Regions from separate parts of the Homo sapiens genome. Here all the other regions are linked to region 1. Evidence: promoter capture Hi-C in 16 types of primary human blood cells and fetal thymus (Javierre and others, 2016). All regions are on one chromosome and are shown on one strand. Each heading gives the region's core, a stretch centred on a gene start or on the middle of the fragment in contact. The rest is flanking DNA. Distances are from core to core; before and after follow the strand shown. Region 1 holds the start of MYNN (myoneurin). Region 2 has its middle 14 kb from the start of RPL22L1. Region 3 overlaps EIF5A2 (eukaryotic translation initiation factor 5A2). Region 4 holds the start of GOLIM4 (golgi integral membrane protein 4).

Region 1 (5,318 bases), core at 1-2,500:
CCTCTCAATTTGATAATAATCACTTGAGAATTGCGAATTGACACTTACATATCAAGGACTTTACAAAACCCTCTCCAAAGTGGGGTTTCCGTAGTGTAGTGGTTATCACGTTCGCCTAACACGCGAAAGGTCCCCGGTTCGAAACCGGGCGGAAACACACTAAAAAATCCCTTTTTTTTTTTTTTTTTTTTTCCTTCGCTTGGAAGAAAGCGTGAGATCACGCTTTGTTTTCTTTTGTTGTTTGTTTTGTTTTTTTTTCTGAGGGAAGCCTTAGCTTAATGTATGCCGGTCCTTCAAAAGACATGATAGCAATTTGAGAGTCTGAACTGTAAGTTTTTGTTACTTTATTCGTTCACCAAATGTTTTTATGGAAGCCTTGCCACGTGGAACATGTGTCCCGGGTTTTAAAAAATGAATTTGACTCACCAGCTAACACTGAAAAAATAATGTACAGCCTAGAAGGAAAGATCAAAGTGTAAAAGTGGTTAGTCCTGTCGCCTCCTGAGCATTTTTGTATTATATCACTTGGTTTTTCGTCTGAAGTGGCTGTAAATAATCGTATTAAAAATCTTCTGGTCCAGACGCAGGAAAACCTTTTCCGGTATAAAGCCCACCTTCCTCTAATGTTGCGCATGCCCACTGTGCCCAGCTGCTCCGCTTTCGTGCATCCCAGACTTCTGTCACCAGGTAAGGGCATCTTGGAAGCTGAGCTACAGTTGGCTGGGGCACAAAAAAACCAGGGGGTGCCAAGAGTTTTCAGGTACGTAAGCGGGAAAGGGGTGCCAAGTCTCAGCTAAAAAATCCCCTATGGCAGAGATCCGAGTACACATGCAGCAGTTTCCACCGGTGGGGCCCCGAGGAAGGGGAGGATGATGGGAGAAGACAAGCAACTACAAGCCCCCGCACGCAGTGCGCAGCTGGCTTCAGGAGAGAGGCCCGCGGTGCTGTGCTGCCGGGCCTCGGCGCAGAGCCCCGGCAGAGCGCCAGACGCTGACTGCCGGCACCAGAATGCTCGCGATGAGGAAGACAGGCGGAGCGCTGCGAGCTAGCGAGCCCTCAGCTCTCGTATCCATGACGCCTGCTGCTTCGGGGGACCCCTGGCATGCTGGGGAGTGGGTCTCTGTGGTACATCCTGTACCGCCCTGGCCGGCGCCGGACCCCCATGGCCCCAGAACCTCCCGCACTGCCACGGGAAGACAGAGCCGGACGTGACGCCACCGTGGAAGGAAGGGAGGGGCGGAGCGTGGCTCGGTGACGTCCTCCCAAGATGGCGGAGACAGAGTGAAGAAACTGTGTTCCCCCCTTGGGTTGCTATCGGTGAGTTCCTACTTCACCCCCAGCCCGCCATCCCGGTCTCTCTAGAGCCTGGGCCATCAGAGGGCAGGCTCCTTGGAGTTCCAGCACGGGTCGGGGCGCAGGTGGAAGGCTTGGGCTAGGCAGCCCCGGGGTGGCCTGGGCCACAACCTCTGCTGTGGAAATTCGCGGGAGTGGGAGCTGGGCAGAGGGCAGGGCGGCAGAAGCCGAGGAGGGACTGGCTTTGGTTGTCACTCTCGGATGCCGCCTCGCGTAGAGAGTGGGAAGGGAGAAGGTGTGGCCTCCTTAGCGCGAGTGATAGAACCTTTGACAGCAAGCCATGGCCGGGCGCATTCCCGGCTTTCTGGGCAGCCACCTCTCGTTTTGGAGAAACTGCACTGGGGAAACTAACAGGTTTTGGTGACTTGAGAGCAGTTTTTAAAAACTCGTACTGTTCTGCCCCTATCTGTCCCAAGAGATCATGTCTTAGTGGTTTAAAAAATTTTTTTGTAACATAAGTATGTCTACTGAGCTTGAAAATCTGAGGGTTCAACAGATGTGAAAGCGTCAGGTTTTGCTGTGCTTTTTGCAGGTGGTAGAAGTGTTGCCATTCACCGTCACTTATTGATGTGTCCAAAGGATTGTGTTAGTTGATCAAGGTAACCAAAGATAGAAAGGCACTCATCCCTTCATTCTTAACCATGTATGTTTGATAAGGATTTTCAAGGGGGCTAAAATTGTTTAAGTTATGTCCTCTGTCCCTTCCCTCACTGAACGTTGATGAGAACTTACGGTTACTGATTTACTGTTTCTTTTTGTCTTTTAGATCAAGGGTAAAATTCCATTCTGATATCAAAATGCAGTATTCGCACCACTGTGAGCACCTTTTAGAGAGACTGAACAAACAGCGGGAAGCAGGTTTTCTCTGTGACTGTACCATAGTGATTGGGGAATTCCAGTTTAAAGCTCATAGGAATGTGCTGGCCTCCTTTAGTGAGTATTTTGGTGCGATCTACAGAAGCACTTCTGAGAACAATGTCTTTCTTGATCAGAGTCAGGTGAAGGCTGATGGATTTCAGAAACTGTTGGAGTTTATATACACAGGAACTTTAAATCTTGACAGGTAAAGTACACATTTTATTTTCAGTTATAAAAGCTAGTCAGTAGTCTTCACAGCAAAAGTAGATTTGTATTTTTTCCATTCATTCTCTGAACTCAAATTCTTCACCTATTTATGCACACAATGTTTGTTTTTATAAAGAAATCAGTATCACTGATTTAGGATGAGCAGGCAATATTTTTCATAAGCACAGATAATAAACAGTAAGATTTCTGACACGTTTATTTACTGAAACAAAGCCTGTGATTTCACTTATGTAAACTTGAACATTAAACACAATGAATTTATTTTATTTTATTTTTGAGACGGGCTCACCGTCACCCAGGCTGGAGTGCAGTGGGGCAATCTCGGCTCACTGCAACCTCTGCCTCCCGGGTTCAAGCGATTCTCCCACCTCAGCCTCCCTAGTAACTGGGACTACAGGTGTGCACTACCACACCTGGCTAATTTTTGTATTTTTTGGTAGAGACAGGGTTTCACCATGCTGGCCAGGCTGCAAACAAAAAATTCTAAGTTACTTCCAGTTTCCCATTGCTTTTTGGTCCTTGAATTCCTCTGGTCTTCTGTCTCCCTCATTCTGACTCCTGTTATCTCTATTAACCTACCAGTACTAATACTGAAGTAAGGTCAGAGATGCTAGAATGATTCTCTAAGATGCTTACTGATGTCACTGCATTAACAAGAAGTGGGTTCTGAGGAATCTGATAATGTAGGCACTGTGTGTCTCCCCTGTATAACGAACCATATAATTAGATTAATATCAATACATTTACAGATTGTAGGGGAAAAGGTGGAGGGAATAAAAGCAAAGAGAAACTGATTAAATTACCCCTGTCTTATTTCTGTCTCTCTTATGAAAGTGAACATGAATAGACTGTTCATAATCTTCTGACACAGGAAGATTATAGGCTTTGGAATTAGATCTTTCCTGTCAGTCGCTATGTCTCCTTGAGCATGATGCAATCTCTCTGGGCCTCAGTTTCCCCATCTGTCAAAATGAGATGGTAATAACTACCTTGAGGCTAAATAAGGTTTTACTTGATCCTTATTCACTTCCCACTGAACGTTAATTTCTTTATTTTTCTTCTTTACCCTCTCCTCCCCCTTTAATTCCACATTTCTCGGAGAAAAAATAGAAAAAACAAAAAAGAAACACCTGAAATACTGCTGCCCACTGATAACCCCTGTTAACCTTTTGATATATATTAATTAATTCTTTTCCAGATCTCTGTAGAGATGTGCATGTATACATTAAGCAAAATCTTTCCCTCCCTTTTATATTGTAACTTATCATGGAAATATACTTATTTAAAAATCTAGAATCAGGGTGCTCATTAATCCTTTTGACGAGGAAACATTCTTGTGTAAGAAGTATCCAGTGGGGGGAGGGGAGGGAGAGAAAAGTAAACTTTCATGCTATTTTGGAATTATTTTTAAATTTTGGTATAATGAAATCTTCAAGTGAGTTCTTTATAAGTTGATTAAAGGAAAAGAGCAGTGTGAATTTTGGCTGGCCTGCAATTTAATGGTTTCCCTTTCTCTCAATTAACTATGCAAAACAAAAAAATCTTCATTTGAATACACGGTAGAGCACTTTTCTTTGAGACTTCATGCAAAGAACCAATGTGAAGAACAGCCAGGTGTTTTGTTCAGTCTCTTTTGGTACATATCTTTCCTGGAGACTGGGGAGCTAATTCCTCGAGTTCAGCTAGAAATGTAAGAGAGGATTTATACCAAAATAGAAAGGCTTACAACTTAGTGATTAAGAAAACAGGTAGAATATATTAAGTTGGCTCAGGGGCCAGATTACCTTGGTCAAATCTTGGTTCTAACATTCTGTGCTCTTGGACAGGTTACTTTATTTCTTTGGACTTCTGATTTTTCACTTGTGTGTAAAATGAGGATTATAATAGATTTCATAGGCATGTCCTGAGGATAATCTTATAAAGCATTTAGGCATGTACCTGGCAATATGTAATTAAATGACCTTCAGTGACTGTTCAGAGGATGTTATCTAATACTTGTAAACAAAAGCAAATCTGTTATTGAAGTATTGATTGGTGCTCTTAACTGTGACTGAGATTATAGCCATCTATGAAATAGTTTGTATGAATTACCATTTCAATGTTGAACAAATTTTTTTTTTTTTTTTTTTTTTTTTTTGAGATGGAGTCTCACTCTGTCACCCAGGCTGGAGTGCAATGGCGTGATCTCGGCTCACTGCAACCTCCACCTCCCAGGTTCAAGGGATTCTCCTGCCTCAGCCTCCCGAGTAGCTGGAATTACAGGCACCCGCCATCATGCCCAGCTAATTTTTGTATTTTGTAGATACGGGGTTTTACCATGTTGGCCAGGCTGGTCTTGAACTCCTGACCTCAGGTGATGCGCCCACCTTGGCCTTACAGGCATAAGCAACTGCACCCGGCCTTGAACAATTAATGTATGACTTCCTGCTAACTTATATTGGTCTTAAAGGCTACCTGACCTTGTTATCTGTTTGGCGGTTTATTTTATGGAGCACTAAACACAATTAGAGACCAAAAGATCTTTTTTAGTGGCCCAGCCCAAAAGACAATTTTTAGAAAGCTGTTGTGATGCTAAATTAAATAAGGGGAAACATACAGGTGGCACTTGAGGCAAAGCAAGTTTAATTAGAAGATGATGAGAACATGGGTAGAGATTTGTAGATACTGTAGCATACTTTTAGAGATCTTAGAGGTTCATGACACTAGTTATTTTTTATTTTATTTCAAATTTTAGTCCTTTAAAATAGTATCACCAGCACTATATTTACATTGTCAGCTATGATTAAAACCCTTTTCTGGCTTATACTTACAACAGAGAGGGAAAGAGATCATCTTCCCAAAGATAAACCATATTTAGGGAAAAAAATCAAGTAGGAAGA
Region 2 (5,683 bases), core at 2,522-5,021, 1.1 Mb after region 1:
TTGTAGTTATATGGATTTGCTTACCCAGAAAGGCACACAGAGATAAATTTGACCTGGTTTTTAGCCTCGAAGTATTTACAGTCTAGTGAGGGAGGAAAACAAATAAACCAAAAATTCTGTCAAAGTGTCAGAATGTTTATGATATAGCTTAAACAAAAAGGCAGTGGTATTAGTTTGTGTACCAGGGAATTCCAAGGTGTGTACCTCCTCCAACTTCAATAGGCTGCCTCTGGCTTCTCTGGGGTTGGCCTTGAAATGAGCAGGGTCTGGGAGGCAAAAGGAAGGGACAGAAAAGGTCTGTCTCCACCACTACAGTTTGGTGATGTGGCTTTCTGGGCTTGAAGAAAGTTCAAGGCTTCTTCTTTCTCTTGAAGTATACATTTCTGGATTTCTCAAAGATTTATCACAGAGAATCTTTTGCTGCAACATTCGTGACATAAGCAATGCCATTTCTCAGGATCTTCACTCACTACCTGTAGCTCCTGAGCATGTGGTTGTCCCTTATACACAGACTCTTTCTGTTTGGGGTCCCACTTCTCTCCCAAGCAGTCCTCTTAGGTGAACAAGAACTCAACCCAAGCCTGGTCCTTCCCCGTGCACTACATCTGTGGACTACATCTGGTCCAGGGGAAGCACCTGTGCCTCCTTGTAGCTATGGAAATGTACCCCTCATTGCTCTCCCGTAGGCAAACTGCTCCAGCCACTGCCTTTGCCTTAGTTTTTCTCAAGGATGAGTCAAATGCCTAAAAGTCTTCAATTTCTCATGTGTCCTGGAAGTAGGAAATGAACTAAGTCTTAGAAAACTGGAGCTGGAGCACCTCCTTTGTAAGCTCTGCATAGATTTGGAATGTGGGAATATTTGGCACCTTAATTTTGTTCTCAGTTCTTGGAGTCTCAGCTGAAATAGGAGAGAAAAAGTCTCATTGGAAAAGTCTGTTTCATACCTCAATGAAAAGTACAGGGGTGATGAAATAAGGAATCTTCCATGCTGTTTCTTGAAGGCAGTAGGCCGTCTCCTGTGACTGGCCTTCTTACAATAAAACTGTGCGTCAGAGAGCCCTCTGTTAAGCCAGTTTGTGGTTCTCCAGAAGAGGAAAAAAGAAGCTTGGTTCTCTTCAAAAGCTAGATTATTCTTAGGCTTGGTTCTCCTAAGGAGCCAGCTGAATGTGCATCACTGTGAGAAAAGATTGCCTGGCAGGGAGAAATTTAGAAACATTTTTTTACACTAAAGCATTTACAGAGCATGAGCATTGAAGCCAGAGAGATCTGAATTTAAATTCCAATTTGGAACTTATTAGCTGTGTGGCCGTAGACCGACTGTTTAGCACTCTAAGCCCTTGGTTTTCTGATTTGTAAAAGGGGACTAATAACTAGCTTGAAGGGTAGCTGTGGAAATTAAATGAGATGTAGTATGTAAAGATTCCAAAACAGATGCCTTCGATGAGTAGTAGCCACTATCACCATTCCTCCTCAGCCTGGAATTCTCTCCCTCTTCTTCTCTGCCCCATCAATTCCCATTCTTCCTTAAAGAGAAGTCAGGGTAAGCCACCTCCTGCAGAAGGCCTTCTTGGATTCCTTTTCCCACTCATTATGGTATTGGTGCTTCTAAAGCATTTTGTAATATCTCTATTACTGCATGAACCACACTTACCTAAAGTCATTTGTACCCACATTTGCTCCCCTCGTTAGAACTGGGATTTCCTTGAGTGCAGAGAGTATATATAACTCACCCATCATCTCCCATGACTGCGACTGCCAAGGCAGAAATCATTGACCATATATTTGTGACATGTATGGAATCTGTAATTCACACCTCCCCATCTCAGAGAAAGAGGGAGAGAGGAGTTGCAGTGTTCCCTCCCTTGGGAGAAAACATATCTATTCCATCATAATTGAGATAGCAGATCATGATTCCCAGTTTGGCTCATTAACTCATAGGATTTTAGGACAGAAAAAAAAAGCCTTATCATGGGGGAAGTATGTTACTCTCAAGAAGCTTGTGTGTATCATGAGGTCAGGAGACCGAGACCATCCTGGCCAACCTGGTGAAACCCTATCTCTACTAAAATACAAAAAATTAGCCAGGTGTGGTGGTGTGGGCCTGTAATCCCAGCTACTCAGGAGGCTGAGGCAGGAGAATCGCTTGAACCTGGGAGGCGGAAGTTGCAGTGAGCCGAGATTGCGCCACTGCACCCCAGCCTGGCGACACAGCAAGACTCCGTCTCAAAAAAAAAAAAAAAAAAAAAAAAAAAAAGGTATATCCAATATTATGAGTTTATAGTGGGAAAATTATCCCAAAAATCTTACTTTGTTTTGTTTCAGAATAGAAAGCCCCAAAATACCTTGGTTGGTGGGGATATTTATGCATCAGTTATATCACAGGGTGGCAATTGGAACTGGGAACAAGGAACATGAGAAATATCTGTGTTTATCAAAAGGAAGCAGGTGTTACTAAAGCCCGAGAAATGCTGACCTATTTTTAACCACTTCTTTATATACAGAAGGGGAAACTGAGGCCCAGAGGGTGAAGAGATGTGTCCAAGGTCACAAAGCTAGTAGGCAACAGAGAGGCAGGATGTGTGACATGGCCCCGTGTGTGGGAGGAGCACTGGGTGAGGAGTGAGAGGTGGGTGCCATGGTGTGACCATGGGCAAGCCAGTAAACCTGAGACCTGGTTTTTTCATCTGAAAAATGGGAAGATAATATTGTGCCACAGAGGGCTGTTAAGGGATCAAAAGAAAAGAGAAAGCCATTTGTAAATGCAACACATTGTTTAAAACTGGCCTTCCTGGCATTTTAATCATCCAGCTTGTAAAAGAGCACACACTGAAGCTATATATCTAGACTCCAGTCCCTTCAGCATGACCACATACAAGGGTTTCCAGACAGTAAGTAGGAAAACCTATGCTAAGCAAAACTTCCTGGGAACTTTTTCATCAGGGGTAATGGTATAGGTGGGTAGTCACATGGGAAAAAGGTATAATTGGATCCACTTCTCAAATTGTAAACCAGGATAAATTCCAAATAGAATAGAGACCTACATTTTTTTAAGATGAAAATATGTAAGTACTAGCAGAAAACATAAATGAATTCTTGATAACGGGGAAAGCTTTTCTAACCATGGCAATAAGAAAAAAGTTAATTGATTTAATTACATAAAAATAAAAATAATGCTTCTATAGCAACAACTACAACAAAACAAAATGAAAACTAGTAATAAAACAAAAGAAAAATAGCAGCTGGGTATGGTGGCTCACACCTGCAATAATAGCACTTTGGGAGGCTCAGGCAGGAGGATTGTTTGAACTCAGGAATTCAAGACCAGCCTGAGCAATATAGCAAGACCCCATCTCTACCCAAATTTTTTAAAAAATGAGCCAGGTAGTGGTGTGTGCCTGTAGTCTCAGCTACTCAGGAGACTGAGGTGGGAGGATGGCTTGAATCTACGAAGTCAAGGACGCAGTGAGCCATGATCCAGCCTAGGCAACAGAGCAAGGGCTTGTCTCAAAAAAAAGTTAAAAAACAAAAATACCATAAGTAGGGGAAAAAGACAAATGAGAAGCTGAAAAAAGAAATTGTAATTTACATCACACACAAGGAGTTAATAGCCTTAACATAGAGGGAGCTTCTAAAAGTAAAAAATTAAAAATAAAAACAAGAATTCCACAGATATATATTAGAGATATAAACAGGCAGCTCACAGAGAAAGATATGCAAATGACCCTTATTGACATTCAACCTCACTCACAAATACAATGCAAAGGAAAATTACCCTGAAAACCAGGTCTCACCTGTCAGTTAAGCCTCAAATTGGACAAGGTTATCTCTTGGTGTGTCTACAGGAAAACAGATTTCACAGATTGCTGGTGGGAAGGCTAGTGGGAGAGCAAAATGCTACAACCCCTGTAAAGGGAAATTCAGCAATATCTAGAAATTACACATTCATTTATCTTTTGACCTGTAAGTCTCAGGTTTACAACTCCTCTCTAGGGGCTGGGCACGGTGGCTCATACCTGTAATCCCAGCACTTTGGGAGGCCAAGGCGGGTGGATCACAGGTTCAGGAGTTCGAGGCCAGCCTGGCCAATATAGTGAAACCCCTTCTCTACTAAAAATACAAAAATTAGCCGGGTGTGGTGGCAGGAGCTGGTAGTCCCAGCTACCCAGGAGGCTGAGGCAGGAGAATTGCTTGAACCCAGGAGGCAGAGGTTGCAGTGAACTGAGATTGTACCACTGCACTCCAGCCTGGGTAACAGAGCGAGACTCTGTCTCAAAAAAAAAAAAAAGACAGAGAAACTAGACTTTTCTAAATATACTTTGTTTTGTAGATTGGACTTTAGAATCCTGTAAATATTTTACAGAATTATAAAAAACAAAGTGGGCTTAAGCAAACTTTTTAATCAAAAGCAAAATGAAACAAATGACTCTGTGTATCAAGCTTGTTCTACGCCCACACAGAGATGAATCATTTCTAGTGACTTTAAAACACGAAACTTTGTTCATTTCTAGTGGGATATACCATAAGGACAAAAAGAACTGCAAAACAATCTTAAGCTGTAAAGTCATTATATTATAGGTAGTTTTGTTGGTATTATTTTATTGAAACTATTATGTGTATATTGTGAGATAAAGCAAATGAGCATTTGTGTTGGTGTCATTGAGAACTGGAACTTTCAGCATGGGAAAAAAGAGATATGGTCATACAATTGATGAAATAAAAACTCTTTTATCCTGATTTTGAATTGGAAGCATCAGAATAAACATATCATTTCCTCTTAAGAACAAAAATGTATTCCTTCACTCTGTCCACTCAAAAGGCCTAGAAACAAACACCACCCCAGTAATGACAAGCATCTCCAGCACCTAGAAAATAGTCCAGAGCTCCTTGTAGAAATGGATGACTCCTGGCCAGGCACACTGGCTGACCCCTGTAATCCCAGCACTTTGGGAGGCCAAGGTAGGAGGATCACTTGAAGTCAGGAGTTCAAGCCCAGCCTGGCCAACATGGCGAAACCACGTCTCTACTAAAAATACAAAAGTTAGCCAGGCATGGTGGCACATGCCTGTAGTCCCAGATACTCAGGAGGCTGAGGCAGGAGAATCACTTGAACCTGGGAGGCGGAGGTTGCAGTGAGCCAAGATCGCGCCACTGCACTTAGCCTGGGTGATAGAGCAAGACTCTGTCTCAAAAAAACAAGCAAACAACAACAACAAAAAAACGGATGACTCCAGATCTGAGGCAGGAAATTTGGAAGAGCCTAGCACATCCTATTATACCAGAAACCAAATAAGCAATAAAATCCAAATAAGATCATGCCAAAAGGATACAAGAGTCAACCTGAAGAGGCTCCTATTGGCTCAGTATGAGACCATTTGCATATTAGTAAGTGTAACTACCAAAACTAATAAAACAAAAGAACTGCCAGACTGCCCGAAGAAACCTACAAAGGGGCCTCTTATAGTGACTTCAGTTTTATGGGATAATTGTAATGCTTCCAAAGCTGTTGTGCTCCAAAGTCTAGCCACGGGTATTGCTATTGATTGGGCTCCAAAAGGGCATTATTCGCAAGATTGCTCCGGCAAAAATACCTCATGCTCAGAGTTTATTTATTTATTAGATTATATGGAGAATGGATGGCAGTCTTACAGGCTGAGACAATGGGTGTCTCCTTACCCATTCAAAT
Region 3 (5,689 bases), core at 2,604-5,103, 1.1 Mb after region 1:
CCACACAACTGGGAACGCACAGCAGCTCTCCATCATTGAGTGGAAGTAGCATATATGAGATCAGCTTGAGAAGGACCTAAAGGTACAAACAAGTTGTATAAGAAGTGGCTCAGACTCAGAAAACACTTTGTCTTACCACACTGACACTTCTCCTTCAACTGATACCAATGACTAGATGGACAGTTGCCTATGACCAGCTGACTGAGAAAGGAAAATATTCACAATGGTTTCTAGATGGTTATGCATTATATGATGACACCATTCAGGGGTCAACCTGAAAGTGGGTTTGGGAAGAACTTCAAGCACTGGACCTGAAAGAAGACAGAACCAGAAGTGTGGATTTGCACTGATTATGAGCTAATGTGTGAATGCCATTCAGCCTTTTTTTTTTTTTTTTTTTTTTTTGAGACCGAGTCTTGCTCTGTCACCAGGCTACAGTGCAGTGGTGTGATCTTGGCTCACTGCAACTTCCACCTCCCAGGTTCAATCGATTCTCCTGCCTCAGCCTCCCAAGTAGCTGGGGTTACAGGTGCCTGCCACCACACCCGGCTAATTTTTGTATTTTTTGTAGAGATGTACAGAAGCCTTCCTTTTTTTTTTTTTTTTTTTGAGATGGAGTCTTGCTCTGTTGCCCAGGCTGGAGTGCAATGGCGGGATCTTAGCTCACTGCAACCTCCGCCTCCCAGGTTCAAGTGATTCTCCTGCCTTAGCCTCCTGAGTAGCTGGGATTACAGGCATGCACCACCACGCCTGACTAATTTATGTATTTATTAGAGACGGGGTTTCACCATGTTGGCCAGGATGGTCTCGATCTCTTGACCTCGTGATCTGCCCGCCTTGGCCTCCCAAAGTGCTGGGATTACAGGTGTGAGCCACTGTGCCCGGCCTCAGCTTCTTTTTGTAGCTTCTCTCATCTTTGCTCAGTGGGATCAATGACACGGGCTTTCTCTCACCAAGACTGATCTGACTACAGCCACTACTGAAAACCTCACAGAAACAGGTCAGTCTTGATATGGCAGAAGAAGAACACAGAACAGAAGAACAAGAAGTCTTAATATGTTTCCCAGAACAGCTGGCCACCTGACTGTACCCCTTCCATCATGAAACAGGCAGCAATTTTTTCTTATTGCAATAGTTTTACTCTGCATATGGATTTGCCTTTCTTGCCTGCAGTGCTTCTGCTAAAATCTCATCTCAATTTACAGAATGCCTCGTTCCTGTCATAGTATCTCACACTGCATCACTTCTGACTAGAAAACTAATTTTACAGGCAAAGTAACAAGGCAGTGCAACACCCAGATAATTCGCTGGCTCACGTACCCTATCATTCCAAAACAGCTTGCCTCTGTGGATCAGCCTAGTGAAGACTCAAATATGGCACCTGCTGAATGGTACTTTGTTGGCCTGGAGTGCTGTTTTTTGCAGGTTACAATATATTTCAATATATGATGCTATTTTTCCTATAGGTAGAATACACAGGTCTAGGAACTAAAGTTAGTGGCTCTTCTCATGATTACCCTTAATGATCCTGTAACAAATATTTGCTTCTAGTCCTCGCAACATTGGGCCCTATTGCTTTAGAGGTTTTCTATTTCCAAAGAAAGACTGCTTCCATCTGAGAACACAAGGATTCCCATGAAACAGGTAAAAATTATAAAAAGACTTTAAGCTCAAGGAATTCAATGAACATATCTAAACATTCAAATAATATACTACTTATTTGAATTCAATTAACATATCTCAGCATTCAAATGATATACTACTTATTTGAATTCAATTAACATATCTAAACATTCAAATAATATACTACTTATTTGAAGAATATACTAGAATTTAATAGTCACAGTTTTGGCAATTCACTAATAATCCAAAGGTCTACAATATATACTTTATGTGTCTATAGTAATTAGTCTTCCTTCTGGAAAATGGTTTTCAAATGACAGGTAAAACTGTAGTAAATGCAGAAACGGCATTTAACTTGTGGTGAAGTTCATATCAACACAGAACTTTCTAAAGAAATATGATTCCAGAGAGTGCTAAAGTCTGAATAAGCATTTCTGTATGAATTTGGGGATTCCCAAAGGTCTATCTGGATGCATTTATAATTTTCAACATCACTCAGTCCCGGACATCTATAACTACTTTTGGGAGAAGTAATGTAAATGAGCAATTCTAATCCAAGCTAATCTTGAAAGAGAAGTTAGGAGACAATTTTTCTTTCATTCTGAACTTATTTTAAAACACATAAAATTAAAACTATAAATATTAATACGTTTTGTTTCCTGTTTACTTTTTAATTATCATAATGAACAGAATACATATTTCTCTTTAGCCAACTGCCGAACTGGCACTCAAAATATTGAATTCAGCAAACATAAAGGATTACACACGCCAAATAATGAGTAGATATTTAATCAAGGCACTTGGTTAGGTAAGTGAAGACCACCATAGCACAATAAATATAAATAGAAAGGCCCACAGAACTTTTGTTTTTGAGACAGGGTCCCACTCTGTCGCCCAGGCTAGAGTGCAGTGGAGTGATCACAGCTTAGTGCAGCCTTGACCTCCCAAGGCTCAAGTGATCCTCCCACCTCAGCCTCTGGGTCTGCTGGGACTACAGCTGTGTACACCACCATGCCTCGCTAATTTTTTTTTTTCTGTATTTTGTAAAGATGGCGTCTCACCACATTGCCCAGGTTGGAGAACTAGTTTTTTAAACAATTAACAGAAATAAGTTATTTTTCTATGCTGACTTGAAAATGAAGAGCAGAGAAATACTGAATACTTTCTATGCCAGGCGTTGTTGTATTAACTAATTAAACCTCAAAATGATCCCATGAGGCGTTATTATTTATGTCTCTGCTTTATAAAGAAAGAAATGGAAGCAAAACAGGTTAAGTAACTTGTCAACCAAGGTCACACAGCTATTAAGTGCCAAAGTAAGACTAGGACCAGGCCTGCCTGGCTTAAATCATCCTCTTATCCACTTTGCAGTGCGGAGTACATACCAAGGGTTGGGACAAGGGTGAAGTAAGACACTTGTCTTGGGTGCAAAATTAAAGAAGGCACCAAAAAAACCTCAGTGATCAGATAGGCATTTTAATGCAATATTTTAAAAAATTAGAATTAATGCAAAAATCCTATGATAAAATACCAAAATTCTAAATAAAGATGGGATCAGAATTAATTTTCTTTGCGCCTTGAGCTCCTATATGGCTTGTCATTGTTACTAGTTCTGTCTTTATTTAAAATTTTGTGCCTGAGGCAAGAGCCTCCCTCACTTCATTTGCCTCATCCTAGTCTAGGACCCAAACCAAATTTTTCCTTTAAGTCTTGAGCTCCAATCAATGACTGGCTAACCTTATCATAGTATAATAGTAATTATCTGAACTGCTGATACCATCTTTCTGAAACATGCAACAGGCAAAAGCATTCTATATTGAATGAATATTACTGAATATAATTAATATTGAATAGTCAAAGCTTTCATACTTTAAGACGAAAAGAGAAACCCAATTTTGACAACATTCTACGCTCAACTTTAGCCTGCTGTACTATCTCTACCACATTCAGTAATCACATATACATTTAACAAATATTTTTCGAGCACCTACTATGTACCACATCAAAGTTGGTGCTCCAACAATAATGAAATGATTAAGTAGAATTTTTACATAGGAAAAGGGGGAAACAGAACAGCACTTTTTGGTACGTATCTACTTATGGAGTTCTTAATGGGGTACATTTTCTCATTTAATCCTCCTATTATCACTATTTTGTAGATGAGAAAACAGGCTCAGAAAGGTGTATAACTTGTCCAAAATCATCCAACTAGAAAGTGACAGAACTAGATCCAAACCCAGATCTACCTGGTTAAAAAAACCCACTTGCAAGACAATTCAAATTTCTACAAAGACTTCAAAGCAACCTAGAAAACATTTATGACAAGTAGGAAAGTGAAAATATAAAAGTGTTTACTAGATTAAAACCACAAAAAAGTATGTTTGCATGTGGACAAACAGCAAAAGGAAATCATTGCGTAAGTGCAGTTGATAGCAACATTAAAAGAAATTTATACAATACAACAAAGGGTACAGAAAAAAATCAGTTTAAGTCGGATAAAACAAATACCAGTGTCAACTTTGTATTTTTCACTATGTAAAATGAGCAGAAATGAGTTTGATATATGGTATGCTTGATACAGAAATTGAAGACTTTCAAGAAAAGCTTTAGTTATAAGTAATCTGAGCTTCCACATCCTATAAGGTCAATTATTTTGTTATCATCAATACTTCAAACAACAAAATGCTATCATTAAATATGACCTACCCAAATGTATAACTGGAACTAAAACTTGAAATTTACATACATAATTTAGCAAAAGGTCATAGCATGGTCACTAAGTATAATTTAACCAATTATATAGTTTTTGTGTTTTCTTCACCATACTCAGTGACCAGGTACTTTATCCTTTATATTTATGGCTTTCAACTTATTTCTCTACTTAAGAATGTCAAGTTCTGACTAACATTCATTAATGCAAAAACTTGGTAGGAACATGAATTTCAGTAGTTTCTTGAATGTCTCAGGTCTGATCAGTGAAAAGAAACAAAACATCCAGGAGGGATGTTTTAAATTAGAACAAGAAATATTTTACAACAGAGAGAATAGTACTTTTACTAAACATTGGACTTAATTGCAATATGCAGTCACTTGGCCTGAGAACACTAATAAGTATTTGACTTTTTAAAAAATGCAAGAATGTGAAAAAAATAGCAAACTAGCAATAATCCTAGAAAAGTACATGTGTTAAACATCACTATTTCTCCAATTTCTAAGATAGCTGGTGCCTAATAATTGGTTAGAAAAACCTACAAAACTACTCTTGGGTTTTGTCAAATTATTACTGATAGTACAAAGTATTTGCACCTTGAAGAAACAAGCAACATTCTAAAGAAAATCAGTGCTTACTTGATAATCATTTCTCTTAATATTTGGAACATCCATGTTGTGAGTAGAAGGACAAATATCTTCATATTTTTTGCCCGTGAAAATATCAATTCCAACAAGGTGAACCTAACAGAGGAGAACAGGAAACCTGTTTAATCTCTGCCAAGTATATCACTCATTACACACACAAGAGCACAATACCAATGCTGATTACAACAGATTCTTTTTCTCCTCCTTCCAAGGTCATCTAATTTTACTTAAAAAAAAATGTAGTGGTCTTACAATTAAGAGGCAGTAAACAACTAAACAGTATCACGACATGTCAAGACCCAATATAGACCAGTGATTCAATTATGAGATTACACAAGAAAAATAAAGTGTAGATTTCTTAGAATTGCTAGAACAGGTTTTCTCATCTGTAAACTAAATAGATCTTATAGGTCACTAGGATTCAGGAAAGTTTCAGTTCCCAGTTAATGAACATTGTAAGGGCCCAAGAAGGGAATGCTACCTTTAAGTATTCAACGTAATAACTGATTACCCAGTAATTGTGGGAAGGAAAAAATAGTGCTTATTACAAAATTTTAAGTATAGAAATCTCATGATCTGTAACGGAATACAAATGATCAAAGTCCCAACGCCGAAGCCAAAGCCTGATCTGCAAGGGTACTTACCTTGGCATGACCATGCTTTCCAGTTTTGGAAGTTGACATCTCCACTATTTTGCATGGTCGTCCTT
Region 4 (5,796 bases), core at 2,483-4,982, 1.7 Mb before region 1:
GCTGGCCAAAGATTGTTATTACCTTTGCCACCAGTATGTGACCTCTGTCCCACTCCTCAGTATAATTAAGGTGCCAGTATGGGAGATAAATAGATGACTGATTGCTAAGAGGGATAGATAAACAGGCAGACATAGATATTTTTATAGTGGAAGGGGTTTGCCTAGTCTCTGACCTTTCTGCATGCCATCCCCACCATCTTCTAGTTATGGGGCTCTTCTACAATAAAACTTGTTAACTTGGGGTTACAAGTAACCCACTTTCAAAGGAATCTATGGAGTATAATCTATTCTTAAACTGAAGGTGACCTAAATACGCTCACTTAACGAACGCACATCATCAGATTATAGGTCTAAACTACTGAAATTTTTTCAAGAGTCATTTTTAAAAAGACCACTCTTTTTAAAGTCATTAATTCTGATCTTAATCCAAGCCAGGTCAAGCAATCCCACCTAACTAAACAAGTATTAAGACTGGAGAGCCTGATGTCCTAAAAGCCCATCTATGCAGGTGGTACACAGTGCTGTTGAGTAAAATGTCATTTGTCTTGGAAAAGGGAAGCAAAAGTTGCATACCACCAGAAAATGTACATTAAATGGCTTACACATGGGAAATCCAAAATAAATGCTACTGAAGTCAAAAGTGAATCCACAAAAAACAAAAACAAACAAAAAAATACTTTAGCCTGCTTGTGAAATAATTATTCATGCACAATTATACTGCAAGTTTTGTAGCACCATAATTAGAGAGGAAATGACAAAAGAATAAATTAAGAAAGGGACTTTGAAGCCACTTATTCAAATTAGGTAGAACATTTCCATCTGCTGCAAAACAAAAGTTGTATATTTTAATGATCCTGTATTACCATTTACCACCTCTCTTCCCCACTACCACCACCACCACTAAAAAAAGAAAAGGCAAATTAGAAAAGAAATTTCTAAAATTTCAAAATGAAATACTGCAAATAAAGGCCATTATTCAGAAATTAGGGCCTCAGTCAACAATATCCATCGTCCATCATAGGCCGTTGAGGCAAAGGAGCTACTTGAACAAAATATTTTCTTGTTTTATTTGGCTTTCAAAAAGCAAAGACACAGAAGCAAAGTCTCAGAAAGACAAAAGTGCCTGGGATGAACTTACTCGCCACAGTTCAGAATAATTTTTGTTTGTTGTTTGAATAAACATGCATTGATTCCCCTAATGAGTGTCAGGCACAGTGTGGTGCTGAGGAGGTAATGGTGAAAATGACAGCCTTTGCCCTCATGGGACTCCTAAGAGACCAAGGCACACACAACCTCATATAATCCACCATACATGCCCCTTCCAGCCATGTTTATGAAAATCTAGTCCTGTTATACTATTAGACGGTAAATTTTTCCCTTGGTCTGACTCCATGGAACTTCACAGGGAAGCAACTGATACCTTGTAAATAAATAAGTAAACAAATATCCATATTCTCATACCAACAATAACTCATGGGTAAATTTCAATGAGTTTAAAGAAAATTTTGTGAACCTAAGAGCGTATCAAAACGGGTTTTACTTTTGAACCAAGCCGAGCCATATATTTTCATTGCCTGTGGCTATGCAGCGTCAGTAAGCTAAAAATACTTTTCTTTCTTCTAAGTTGGGAAGAGCAAGTTAAGTCCAAACAATCGGATGTGTATCATTTTCTCTCATCTTAAATTTTTTACTAGAAAACACTCAAAATAACTGAAGCAAAGAAGAGGCATCTGTTTCATATCTGCACACACATACACAGAAACATCCCTCTAGCTTGCATCTATCTACCTAGCAATATTAAACAAGCTATATTTGCATCATCAGCAAAGTCTGCCAACATTTCACCACTTACAGCTATTTATTATTATTTTTTGGTTGGGGAGAAAGCTGCATAAGTATTGAAAACTAACCACAAGTAAAAGCTTGCAAAAAAAATATGTATAGGATACGTCCTTAACAAGAGGACATGGTGCTGACTTTGAATTTACGTTAAAAGTAAATTCAAATTCAAATTCTGAATTTACATTTAAAGTAAATTATGTTTGTGAAAATTACATTAAATTAGATTCTAAAATAGGATAGAAACTTTAAGTTCTTCTACAGGTCTTGCTCAAGTTGGGTTTGCTGTGCATGGCAAAGTGAAAACCTGTGTTTCTCCTCTTTGGCTTCCCGAAGCTAACTGTAACATACATGCATCTCTGTGATGAAGTAAAAGCTACTTAGGAAGACAAGTAAACCTGTTTTTAAAGAAATAAACTACTGCAGGATGGTGAATGGTATGTAGTGTGGACTTTTCCCACACATCCAGCATCTCTAAAGACATCCTATTAAATTAAAAGAATAAGAAATAAGAAACTAGCAGGTCCAGATCTAGGTTCCTTCCATTCGACTGGGCCATGACTTTAATTAAGCTGCTGGGTCATGGCTTAATTTTCCCTTGAAAAACAGCACAGTTTGAGAAATCTCTGCCAAACTCTTCATTTTTTAAGCAACTGACAAAGTCAACAAGAAAGCAAATACCTAGAATCCACGGAACAATGCTCCTCAGAGCAGGGCTGGCAGAAGCGGCGGAGGGCTACCAGTTTCCCTGCCCCGATTGCAGCTGGGCCTTTGACAAGAGCTCGGGTAAAGGACTATCTGTGCACCCGCCCACCAAACGCCCAGCGGGACGATGGGCTGGTGCTACGAAGTTCTAAACCTAACCGCTGGGAGGAAGAAGCGGGAGGATGAGAATGTCATCTCCCCTGACACTCTGGTGCCGGCAGTCCTGAAACGCTCACCTCTGACGTCCCTGAAGGTCAGAGGTGGCAACCACAGTGCCAATAGCTCACCAAAGCCACTTTTCCTGCCCGGGTGGAGGCGCGGGGCAAAGTTGGCCACCGGCTGCGCGCGTCCCGTTAGCCGTACCTTGTAACTGGGCGGAGAGGGACTCCTGGTGCTGCTGGTACTTGAGCGCCACCGCCTCGGCTTTCCGCAGCTGCGTCTGCAGCTCGTAGTAGAGCATCGCGCCGTAGAGAAAGCCGAACACGACGGTCAGCAGCAGCAGCGTCTGGAAAATCCGCTTCTGCTTTCGGGAGCACATCCCGTTTCCCATAGTCCCGCCTGGACCCAAAGCCGCGGCCGCCCCCGCCGTCTCCTCCCCTTGGTCCGAGCGAGCGTCTCAGCAGCGGCCGCCGCAGTAGGTGGCCAGACGCAGCATGAGGAGGAGATGCCAGACACAAAAGCCGGCCCGGAGGGGAAGTGGCGCCCGCTCAGCCCCCGCGCGGCGCGGGGCGCGCAGCCATCGACGCCGCCCGGGCAGCTGCAGCCAAACTTCTGCGAGGCTCGTTCTCCGCGAATGCCCGGGGCCGGGAGGAGGCCCTCCGCATACTTCAGAGCCGGCTGCCCTCGCGCCTGTCCCCAGATGCCTCCTGCCTTTTTTCCTTCTTCCCACTTTTTGGCCCCGCTGCCCCCGGGCAGTTCTTGGAGTCCCGCCCTGGCCACTCCCCGCCCTATCGCGGCGGCTCCCACTGCACGACTTTGTTGCCACCTAAGGGAGGGGGTGCGCGCCCAACAAAGGGACCAGGACTCCGGGCCGCGCCCCCGTGCGGCCTGCCCAATGGGTGGAAGGGTGGGGGCCAGCTGTCTCGGCTGGTTTTGGGGACGGCACAGCGGTGTCACTGACGGGTCGGCTGGTGCCTCTGCCGCCCCGCCACCTCCTGCCCAACTTACGTGTCACCCACGGCCCGGCTATTCTGGCCAACGGGATTCCGGGAGGAAGTCCCACTCGGCCTCCTTGCTCATTGGGCCCGTCCGAGCAGACGCTCCCTCCCTTCGGGGAGGCAGTGCCGGGCTCGATTGGATGCCGGCTTTGTCCGTCCGACCCCAGGGCCGCACCTTCCCTCCCAGTGCCGGGGCCGGCTAGGGGCTCTGTGGGCAGCGCGGCCGCCTGGCGCCGGGGTGCGCCCACGTGGAGTCGGAGAGGGTGGGAAGAGGCAGGCGGAAGGGCGAAGGGCGGGGAGCTTTGGGTGGGCGGGGGACTTGTCCGGGCCTGAGTCTGGGTGAGGTTCGGTGAACACGTGTGTGTGTGTGTGTGTGTGTGTGTGTGTGTTCCAGTTCTCGTTCGGAACGCACGTGGAGAGCGGAGTAAAATGTGTGTATGAACGAAAGAATGGATGGCAGTAACTGTGTGCACTCTGCTGAGTACACTTTCTTTCCCTGTCCAATAAACTGATGCGGCAGACACATGGGATAGCTACATAGCACAATCCCGGTAGTCAAACCAGAGATGCCATGTCGACTGCCTTACCCCATCCAGTGTACTAGCCTAGATGTGTGTGTGCCCACAGATGGCCCGGCAGGAGTCGGGAGACTGGAAGCACGCTAGACTTAATGTTCAATTGTCCACGTGGGCTGGGGAAATCGGCTTGCCATTGGCAGAGAGGAAAGAAATGGTCTCACATTTCTCCTCTAGCTGCAAATAGAATAATTTAAAAACAAATCGTACAGACTGAAATGAGTATCCATTCATTTTGTCATATGTATTTGTTTTATTGGTGGCAAAACACATCAGTTACATTTCTAAATTACATTTTAAAGGGCAACAAAGGTTCCCTATGTAAAAACTAGTACAGCACAGGAAAGGTAGTAACCACAAACCTCTTCGAAGAAATGTATACTGCATTTATTTTTTCTGTGTACTTGAGGGGAATAATTAAGGTTATGCACAAATGATAATTTTTGTTTCTGCTGTTGACCTGAATTCTAAGAAAAGTAAATTTTATCTGTCTGTATAGTGTGGTGTAATTTATGATACACTGCATAATTTTTATATTCTAACTGGACTTTAGTCGTTACCATTGCTAATGGGCCTGAGTGCTCAAAATGGGGGTAAATCTCTTTAGCTAAATGCAACAGAAAGACAGTTCCTGGTGCAAAAGTTTTTTTAGGTGGACTCTGAAATTATAGGTTGCTAAAGCCCTAAAATAAACTGAATTTATAACGATGCTACCCTGTGGCATTTATACCACTGTAAAAATAAAGTGTGTCTTGCATGTGCTTTTCCTTAATAAATAATAACTTGCGTTAAATTATTCAAAATGCTTTCGTGTGCAGATACACTGTCTCACTGATCACAGCCAGGGTGTTAGACTTTCATGTTGGTAAAGAAGCCAAAGTTTATCAAAGTGACTATGACAGCTCTAGGACCTTTTAGGTCTTGCATAAAGTTAGTTACTCAGCAAGATTAGAATCCAGATCCAAACCCTGCTCTATGTCTTTTTCTTCAATAGAAACAATGTTCTCATTCTATTAAACAAGTTACAGTAAGAAATTATATCTCCATTAACATGAGAATCTGATTGTAAAAGAAAACAGTCTAAAGGAGTTTGGGAGTTTTGTTGTGTAAATACTACATAATCTTCCTTATTATTAAATCTACCACTTTAAATTCCTCTTTTTTAGTTTGACTCTCAGAAATTAACATTGGATAATTACTGGAATCTCTTTAAAATTCCTCATAACTAAACATTCCTTACTGTTGTCAGAGTACTTTGTTAAACAAACTCTTCCTCCAAAAACACTATCCAAATTTAGGCTGGGCATGGTGGCTCACTCCTGTAATCCCAGCACTTCTGGGAGGTTAATGCGAACAGATCGCTTAAGTTTGGGAGTATGAGACCAGCCTGGGCAACATAGCAAAACCCCTCCTCTACAAAAAAAAAAATATATAAAAATTTAGCTGGGCATGGTGGCGTGCACCTATAGTCCCAGCTACTCGGGAAACTGAGTTGGGAGGATCCCTTGAGCCTGGTAGGT

What was found. The method cuts DNA at HindIII sites, captures the fragments that hold promoters and counts their contacts. A CHiCAGO score of 5 or more calls a contact.
Region 2: a contact is called between a fragment that was not itself captured here and the fragment with the promoter of MYNN in region 1, in 1 of 17 cell types (activated CD4 T cells). The highest score is 5.0, in activated CD4 T cells.
Region 3: a contact is called between a fragment that was not itself captured here and the fragment with the promoter of MYNN in region 1, in 3 of 17 cell types (naive CD8 T cells, total CD8 T cells and activated CD4 T cells). The highest score is 8.3, in naive CD8 T cells.
Region 4: a contact is called between the fragment with the promoter of GOLIM4 here and the fragment with the promoter of MYNN in region 1, in 1 of 17 cell types (erythroblasts). The highest score is 5.5, in erythroblasts.

The regions. Positions count from the first base shown.
Region 1 is chr3:169,772,146-169,777,463 of GRCh38, forward strand. MYNN (myoneurin) reads left to right here and starts at 1,251. Exons shown (of 8, transcript NM_018657.5): 1 at 1,251-1,317; 2 at 2,120-2,416. The coding sequence starts at 2,151. It overlaps TRV-AAC1-1 (tRNA-Val (anticodon AAC) 1-1), which reads left to right and starts at 85; the gene lies at 85-157. RefSeq lists enhancers at 791-1,340, 914-1,417, 1,056-1,350. The HindIII fragment of the contact is 7,916 bases long and covers 1-5,318 here.
Region 2 is chr3:170,853,276-170,858,958 of GRCh38, forward strand. No RefSeq gene overlaps it. Among named protein-coding and RNA genes, the nearest start is that of RPL22L1, 14 kb to the right of the region's middle. The HindIII fragment of the contact is 1,328 bases long and covers 3,108-4,435 here.
Region 3 is chr3:170,902,018-170,907,706 of GRCh38, forward strand. EIF5A2 (eukaryotic translation initiation factor 5A2) reads right to left here. Exons shown (of 5, transcript NM_020390.6): 2 at 5,625-5,689; 3 at 4,972-5,076. Among named protein-coding and RNA genes, the nearest start is that of EIF5A2, 3.8 kb to the right of the region's middle. The HindIII fragment of the contact is 744 bases long and covers 3,482-4,225 here.
Region 4 is chr3:168,092,192-168,097,987 of GRCh38, forward strand. It overlaps GOLIM4 (golgi integral membrane protein 4), which reads right to left and starts at 3,733. Exons shown (of 16, transcript NM_014498.5): 1 at 2,908-3,733. The coding sequence starts at 3,094. RefSeq lists silencers at 3,509-3,558, 3,849-4,088 and enhancers at 3,760-4,261, 4,459-4,508. The HindIII fragment of the contact is 7,495 bases long and covers 1,921-5,796 here.